Regions from separate parts of the Homo sapiens genome. Here region 2 is linked to region 1. Evidence: promoter capture Hi-C in human tissues and cell types (Jung and others, 2019). All regions are on one chromosome and are shown on one strand. The core of a region is centred on a gene start or on the middle of the fragment in contact, and the rest is flanking DNA. Distances in the headings are between cores, read along the strand shown.

Region 1 (3,356 bases), core at 278-2,777:
TCCATGACAACTCTGTATTATCTTCTTAGCAGAAAGGAGCATTGCTTTATTTATTTCCTAATAAAGCGTTTACTATAGTGCCTCCTGTGTTGTGTTTTGTTTTGTTTCAGTGATTGTTTTGCATCTCACATATATTATCTCATCTAAGTCACATAGAAGCCTCAAACTTGGACAGAACCAAGATGAGTAAAGTGGCCTGCATCGTGTCATGTAGCTAAGGATGGACAGAATTGGCTCTAGGCTCAGGGTTTCTGATTTCACCTCTACTGATGTCACATTTACAGAATTATACTAAGGACTTAGAACCGGGAAGGGGTGCACTCGAAGTTGTTCTCTGACAATGGAAACACCAATTCCACGCATTTGCAGACCATTTTCTACTAACAAAGTTCTTTCCAAATTCATTCCCCTAACCAATAGCCACATCTTAAGAGCAACAACTCGTTTTAAGAGCCCTCGTGAATCATGTGAACATTTTATATTCTCAGTCTCTTGTCAGGCACTGGTGAAGTTCTTTAAATATTTTTGAGCACCCATTGTGTTCCTGCCTCTGTCCTGGGACTTTGGTGTGAGAGGCTCATCTAGAAATACTTGTTTGTTGAAATAATGGAATTGGCATTCTGTTTGTCCTCATTCTTCTGGTCACCTAAATAAATGGTAATAGAAGATTAAGTCATGGCCCAAAAAACTTAGGCCACATTTCATTTGCACCCAAACTTTGAGAGATAATTTGTTTTCACATCAAAACTTTTTATTCCTGGCTTACTGTTTTTTTATTGTGGTAAAATACACATAAAATTTACAATTATAATCTTTATTTATTTATTTATTTTTGAGATGGAATTTTGCTCTGTCACCCAGGCTGGAGTGCAGTGGCACGTTCTCAGCTCACTGCAACCTCCGCCTTCCAGGTTCGAGCGATCCTCCTGCCTCAGCCTCCCGAGTAGCTGGGACTACAGGCATGTGCCACCATGCCTGGTTAATTTTTTGTAGTTTTAGTAGAGATGGGGTTTCACTATGTTGGCCAGATTGGTCTCAAATACCTTACCTCGTGATCCACCTGCCTCAGCCTCTCAAAGTGTTGGGATTACAGGTGTGAGCCACCGTGCCCAACCACAATTATAATCATTTTTACATATACAGTTCAGTGGAAGTAAGTACACTCATGTTGTTAGACAACCATCATCTGTCTCCAGAAATTTTAAAAAATTTTTTAAATTATTTATTTTTTATTTTATCAACTTTTATTTTAAGTTCTGGGATACGTGTGCAGGATGTGCAGGTTTGTTACATAGGTAAATGTGCCATGGTGGTTTGCTACACAGATCAACCCATCACCCAAGTATTAAGCCCAGAACCCATTAACTGTTCTTCCTGATGCCCTCCCTCTCATTGCCTGCAACAGGCCCCAGTATGTGTTGTTCTCCCACCCCAACGTTTGTCCATGTGTTCCCATCATTCAGCTCCCACTTATAAATGAAAACATGTCATTTTGGTTTTCTGTTCCTGTGTTAGTTTGCTGAGAATAACAGCTTCTAGCTCCATCCATGTCCCTACAAAGGACATGATCCAGTTCCTTTTTATGGCTGCATAGTATTCCATTGTGTACATGTATCATATTTTCTTTATCCAGTCTACTCTTGATGGGCATTTGGGTTGGTTCCATGTCTTTGCTATTGTGAGTAGTGCTGCAGTGAACATATGCATGCATGTATCTTTATGATAGAATGATTTCTATTCCTTTGGGTATATATCCAGTAAAGGGATTGCTGAATCAAATGGTATTTCTGGGGATGGTGCTATCTGGTCCAGCTACTATGCTTTTCTATGGTCTTCACAACTCACAGACCAGGAGATTCCCTCGGGTGCCTACACCACCACGGCCCTGGGCTTCAAGCACAAAACTGGGTGGCTGTTTGGGCAAACACCAAGCTAGCTGTAGGAGTTTTGTGTTTTTGTTTTGCTTTGTTGTTGTTGTTGTTGTTTTCATATCCTAGTGGTGCCTGGAATGCCAGCGGCACAAAACTGTTCACTACCCTGGAAAGGGGCTGAAGCCAGGGAGCCGAGTGGTCTTGTTCAGCAGATCCCACCCCCAAGGCACCCAACAAGCTAAAATTCACTGGCTTGAAATTCTCGCTGGCAGCACAGCAGTCTGAAGTCGACCTGGGACACTCGAGCTTGGTGCGGGGAGGGGCGCCCACCACTGCCAAAGCTTGAGTAGGCAGTTTTCCCCTCACAGTGTAAACAAAGTTGCCGGGAATTTCGAACTGGGTGCGGAACCACCTCAGCACAGCAAAGCCACTGTGGCCAGACTGCCGCTCTATATTCCTCCTGTCTCGGGAGGTCATCTCTGAAAGAAAGGCAGCAGCCCCATTCAGGGGCTTACAGATAAAACTCCCATCTCCCTGGGACAGAGCACCTGTGGGGTGGGGCAGCTGTGGGCACAGCTTCAGCAGCAGACTCAAACGTTCCTGCCTGCGGGCTCTGAAGAGATCGACTGTTCTCCCAGCACAGCGCTCAAGCTCTGCTAAGGGACAGACTGCCTCCTCAGGTGGGTCTCTGACCCACATGCCTCCTGACTCCTCCCAGCAGGGGTCAACAGACACCTCATAGCGGAGAGCTCCGGCTGGCATCTGGCAGGTGCCCCCTGGGACAAAGCTTCCAGAGGAAGGAGCAGGCAGCAATACCCAGGCAAACAGGGTCTGGAGTGGACCTTCAGCAAACTCCAGCAGACCTGCAGAAGAGGGGCCTGACTGTTAGAAGGAAAACTAACAAACAGAAAGCAACAGCATCAATATCAACAAAAAGGATGCCCACGCAAAAACCCAATCCAAAGGTTACCAATATCAAAGACCAAAGGTGGATAAATCCAAGAAGATGAGGAAAAACCAGCACAAGAAAAGGCTGAAAATTCCAAAAACCAGAATGCCTCTTCTCTTCCAAAGGATTACAACTCCTCACCAGCAAGGGAACAAATCTGGACAGAGAATAAGTTTGATGAATTGACAGAAGTAGGTTTCAGAAGGTGGGTAATAACAAACTCCTCTGAGCTAAAGGTGCATGTTCTAACCCAATTCAAGGAAGCCAAGAACCTTTATAAAATGTTACAGGAACTGCTAACTAGAATAATCAGTTTAGAAAAGAACATAAATGACCTGATGTAGCTGAAAAACACAGCACGAGAATTTTGTGAAGCATATACAAGTATCAATGACCAAATGGATCAAGCAGAAGAAAGGATATCCGAGATTCAAGATCAACTTAATGAAATAAAGCGTGAAGACAAGATTAGAGAAAAAAGAATAAAAAGGAATGAACAAAGCCTCCAAGAAATATGGGACTATGTGAAAAGACCA
Region 2 (3,356 bases), core at 286-2,785, 60 kb after region 1:
GAGACACATGGAGAAGACAGACATCCACACTTCAAGGAGAGAGACCTGGAACAGATGCTTTCCTAACAGTCCTCAGGTGAAAACAACCTTGGCAACACCTTAAATCCAGACTGCTAGCCTTCAGAACTGCAAGAATATAAATTTAAGCCACTTGGTTTGTAGTGGTTTATCACAGCAGTGCTAGTAAATTAGTATGTTCAGTAAATCTCCTGAGCTACAGATACATTCTCCTACATGCCATGAAAACAGGATAATTACCCCTCACCAAAAAGGAACTCTTTTCTCTGCCTTCTGATCTGCTGACATGAAGAGTGCAAAATGACTAGGCAATAATTATTACCTCTGATTATGCAAAAGAAATAGAGAAGCAAATATTATAATTTTTATTCACACGAAGTAAAAAAGGAATAGCCAAATTGACCTACAGGGTTGCAACTTGATAGAGTGATTAGTGGTTTTTTGGGATGAGTAAAGGAATATAATTTAAAGGGAATGGGATTAATTTCTATTTCCTAACCTGGTAATGGGGACATAGCTTTATTTACAAAGTTATAACAAGTTGGAAATTAATAATTTGCATTCTTCTGAAATGAATGGTATACCTAAAAAATGTTTTAATATGTTAGAACTCCAAGACGAATCAGCTATCATCTCAACTCATCTAATTTCTTCATTAAAAAGAAATGGAGAAAGATAGAGAAAAGAAATGGCACTGACTATGCTACTACCAGAGTTAGGGCTAGAGCCACAGCTCATGCTGGCTTGCCTGAGTCTAAAGCACTTATGTTACACAAAGTCCCACATTTTCATTATGGTAAGCCCCTCTCTCCCAGACAAATCAGAATGAATGGTCAACCCAGGGCAAAGATTGCCTGATGCTATCTAAATCCCACTGGACTTCTCCTCGTACCCACCTGCTCTGGTTCTGCTCTGACACATAGAACACACTGTACCAATCACCCTTTTCCCAAGTGACTTTGATGGAGGTGAAAGACACAGGTGGTGTGGGTTGTACAGAGAGAGATGCCTGTTAGTCTTGAAACAGATTTTGGTGGGTGAACAGTCTTGAACATAGGCATGGATTCATTTTGTCTTTGTGACCATATCAGAATCATGATTCTCCCCACAGACACTTGCCAACCTACATACAACCAAAGAATGAGGCTGGGTAGAGAGAACTTCCTGAGCCTCCCTGGTCACCAGGAACTATCACATCACCAGAAGATGGTCAGAGCAGGAACAATGCTGATGATGAGACGGGCTTCCTTTTATCTGAAATAGTTTCTATGAGTAATCCACAATTAAGCAACAGATTAAACCCTTACTTTCAAAAGATTTATAACCTTTAGAAAACAACTTCCCCTTTGACAATACCAAAATGACTGTGGAAAACAACATAAACAGCAACAAGGAAAAGTCCTGCTGATTGGTGGAAACTTTGGAGGCCAGTTGTATAAAAGGTCCAGAGGGCAAGGGGTCATCAGATCCTGGGAAATTCACCTCTGAACAGAAGTCCACCCTCCACCCCTGACACCATGACCCACTGTTGCTCCCCTTGCTGTCAGCCTACCTGCTGCAGGACCACCTGCTGGAAGCCCACCACTGTGACCACCTGCAGCAGCACACCCTGCTGCCAGCCCTCCTGCTGTGTGTCCAGCTGCTGCCAGCCTTGCTGCCACCCAACTTGCTGTCAAAACACCTGCTGCAGGACCACCTGCTGCCAGCCCACCTGTGTGACCAGCTGCTGCCAGCCTTCCTGCTGCAGCACACCCTGCTGCCAGCCCATCTGCTGTGGGTCCAGCTGCTGTGGCCAAACCAGCTGTGGGTCCAGCTGCTGCCAGCCCAGCTCCTGTGCACCCATCTACTGCAGGAGAACCTGCTACCACCCCACGAGTGTCTACCTGCCTGGTTGCCTAAACCAGAGCTGTGGCTCCAGCTGCTGCCAGCCGTGCTGCCGCCCAGCCTGCTGTGAGACTACCTGCTGCAGGACCACTTGCTTCCAGCCCACCTGTGTGACCAGCTGCTGTCAGCCTGCTTGCTGCTGATCAGTTCCGCAGAGGACCATCATCCCCATACAGTAACCCTCTGGCAAAAGATTTACCTTCTGGGGGACAAATTTACTTTCAAACTGTGATGAAAACCAACAAAGTGAACTTAGGGTGAACTTTGCTCACCCTAATTTTTATGACTTCTCTGCATGTTTAACATTTTGTGAATCAGCTTGAGTGAGGGTAGAGTACTTCATCCTGATTCTTTTTTCCTTACACCTTGTGGATCATGTGCCACCTTCATGTATTTTCAATTTGGAGTCATGGTCTCAGCTTGACTCTAAAGTCAAGAGCTTCATTCCCTTTCTCTAAGAAACTTAGGTTTTGCAACTGATCAATAATCTTCACAATCATGTTTTCATTTTCAGTGTCCTCCTCGTGGTTCTTTTATCCTTATTCCTTTCATGATCATTTTGGGTTATCTCCCTAGAAACAGGGACTCTTACCTATATGTTTCTTAATAAACTCAAAGCTGTCCTTCATCTCACATGGTGTTTTTTTTTATTTTACAGCATTCCTGATATGGGATTTACACACATATTCCATACCATACATGTTACCTAATTTGATTATAAAAACAGATGGTCATGTTTTATTACCTCTACTTTCCAGCTGAGGAAAATTTTAATGTGTGATGTTATTTAGCTAAAAATGCAGACTCAGATTTAAGGTTGGGTCTTCTCTTTCTGTCCAAGAGCACTTATATTTAACTCTCATTAAAGTAAAAATTACATTGGGACTCTACATTCGCAAGACATGCACTTAAGTTGACTCAACAATGGAGGAGTAATCTCCTGTATTTGCAGGTAACATTTGCAGATAACATTTCCATTCTTATATGGCTTCCTTCTTCTCCTGAATACATATTGGCAAGGCAAAATGAACTTAAGTTATTCCTTAAAAAATACAGATGCCATCTTTTGAGACTGTATATCTGGAATGCTCTGAAGATTCCAGAAAGAGAGAAAAGCCGCTGACTGGGATAGTCGTTGGGTGGTGGGGTAAAGGAGAACTAGCACATTCTCATGACCAACATCAGTTATATAAGACGAATATGTTCTGCAGATCTGGTGCACTCTAATGTGGACATAGTTTAAAATACTTTATTGTATACCTGAAATTTGCTGAGAAAGTGGATCTTAAATGTTCACACCACAACAATAAAAAGGAAATGGTGACTATGTGAGCTAATAAATATATTATTATTTCACACTGTATATATATATATACCTCAAAACATAACCTTTTATACCTTACATATACACAATTTTTATTTGTTAATTATACCTCAATAAAACTAGTAAAGAA

What was found. Contacts are between HindIII fragments. The study calls those that stand out against the background at their distance.
Region 2: the fragment with the promoter of KRTAP9-7 here is called in contact with a fragment that was not itself captured in region 1 in 2 of the 25 tissues and cell types used here (IMR-90 fibroblasts and pancreas).

The regions. Positions count from the first base shown.
Region 1 is chr17:41,214,294-41,217,649 of GRCh38, forward strand. No RefSeq gene overlaps it. Among named protein-coding and RNA genes, the nearest start is that of KRTAP9-2, 11 kb to the right of the region's middle. The HindIII fragment of the contact is 7,634 bases long and covers 1-3,356 here.
Region 2 is chr17:41,274,163-41,277,518 of GRCh38, forward strand. KRTAP9-7 (keratin associated protein 9-7) reads left to right here and starts at 1,536. Exons shown (of 1, transcript NM_001277332.1): 1 at 1,536-2,045. The coding sequence starts at 1,536. The coding sequence ends at 2,045. The HindIII fragment of the contact is 10,836 bases long and covers 1-3,356 here.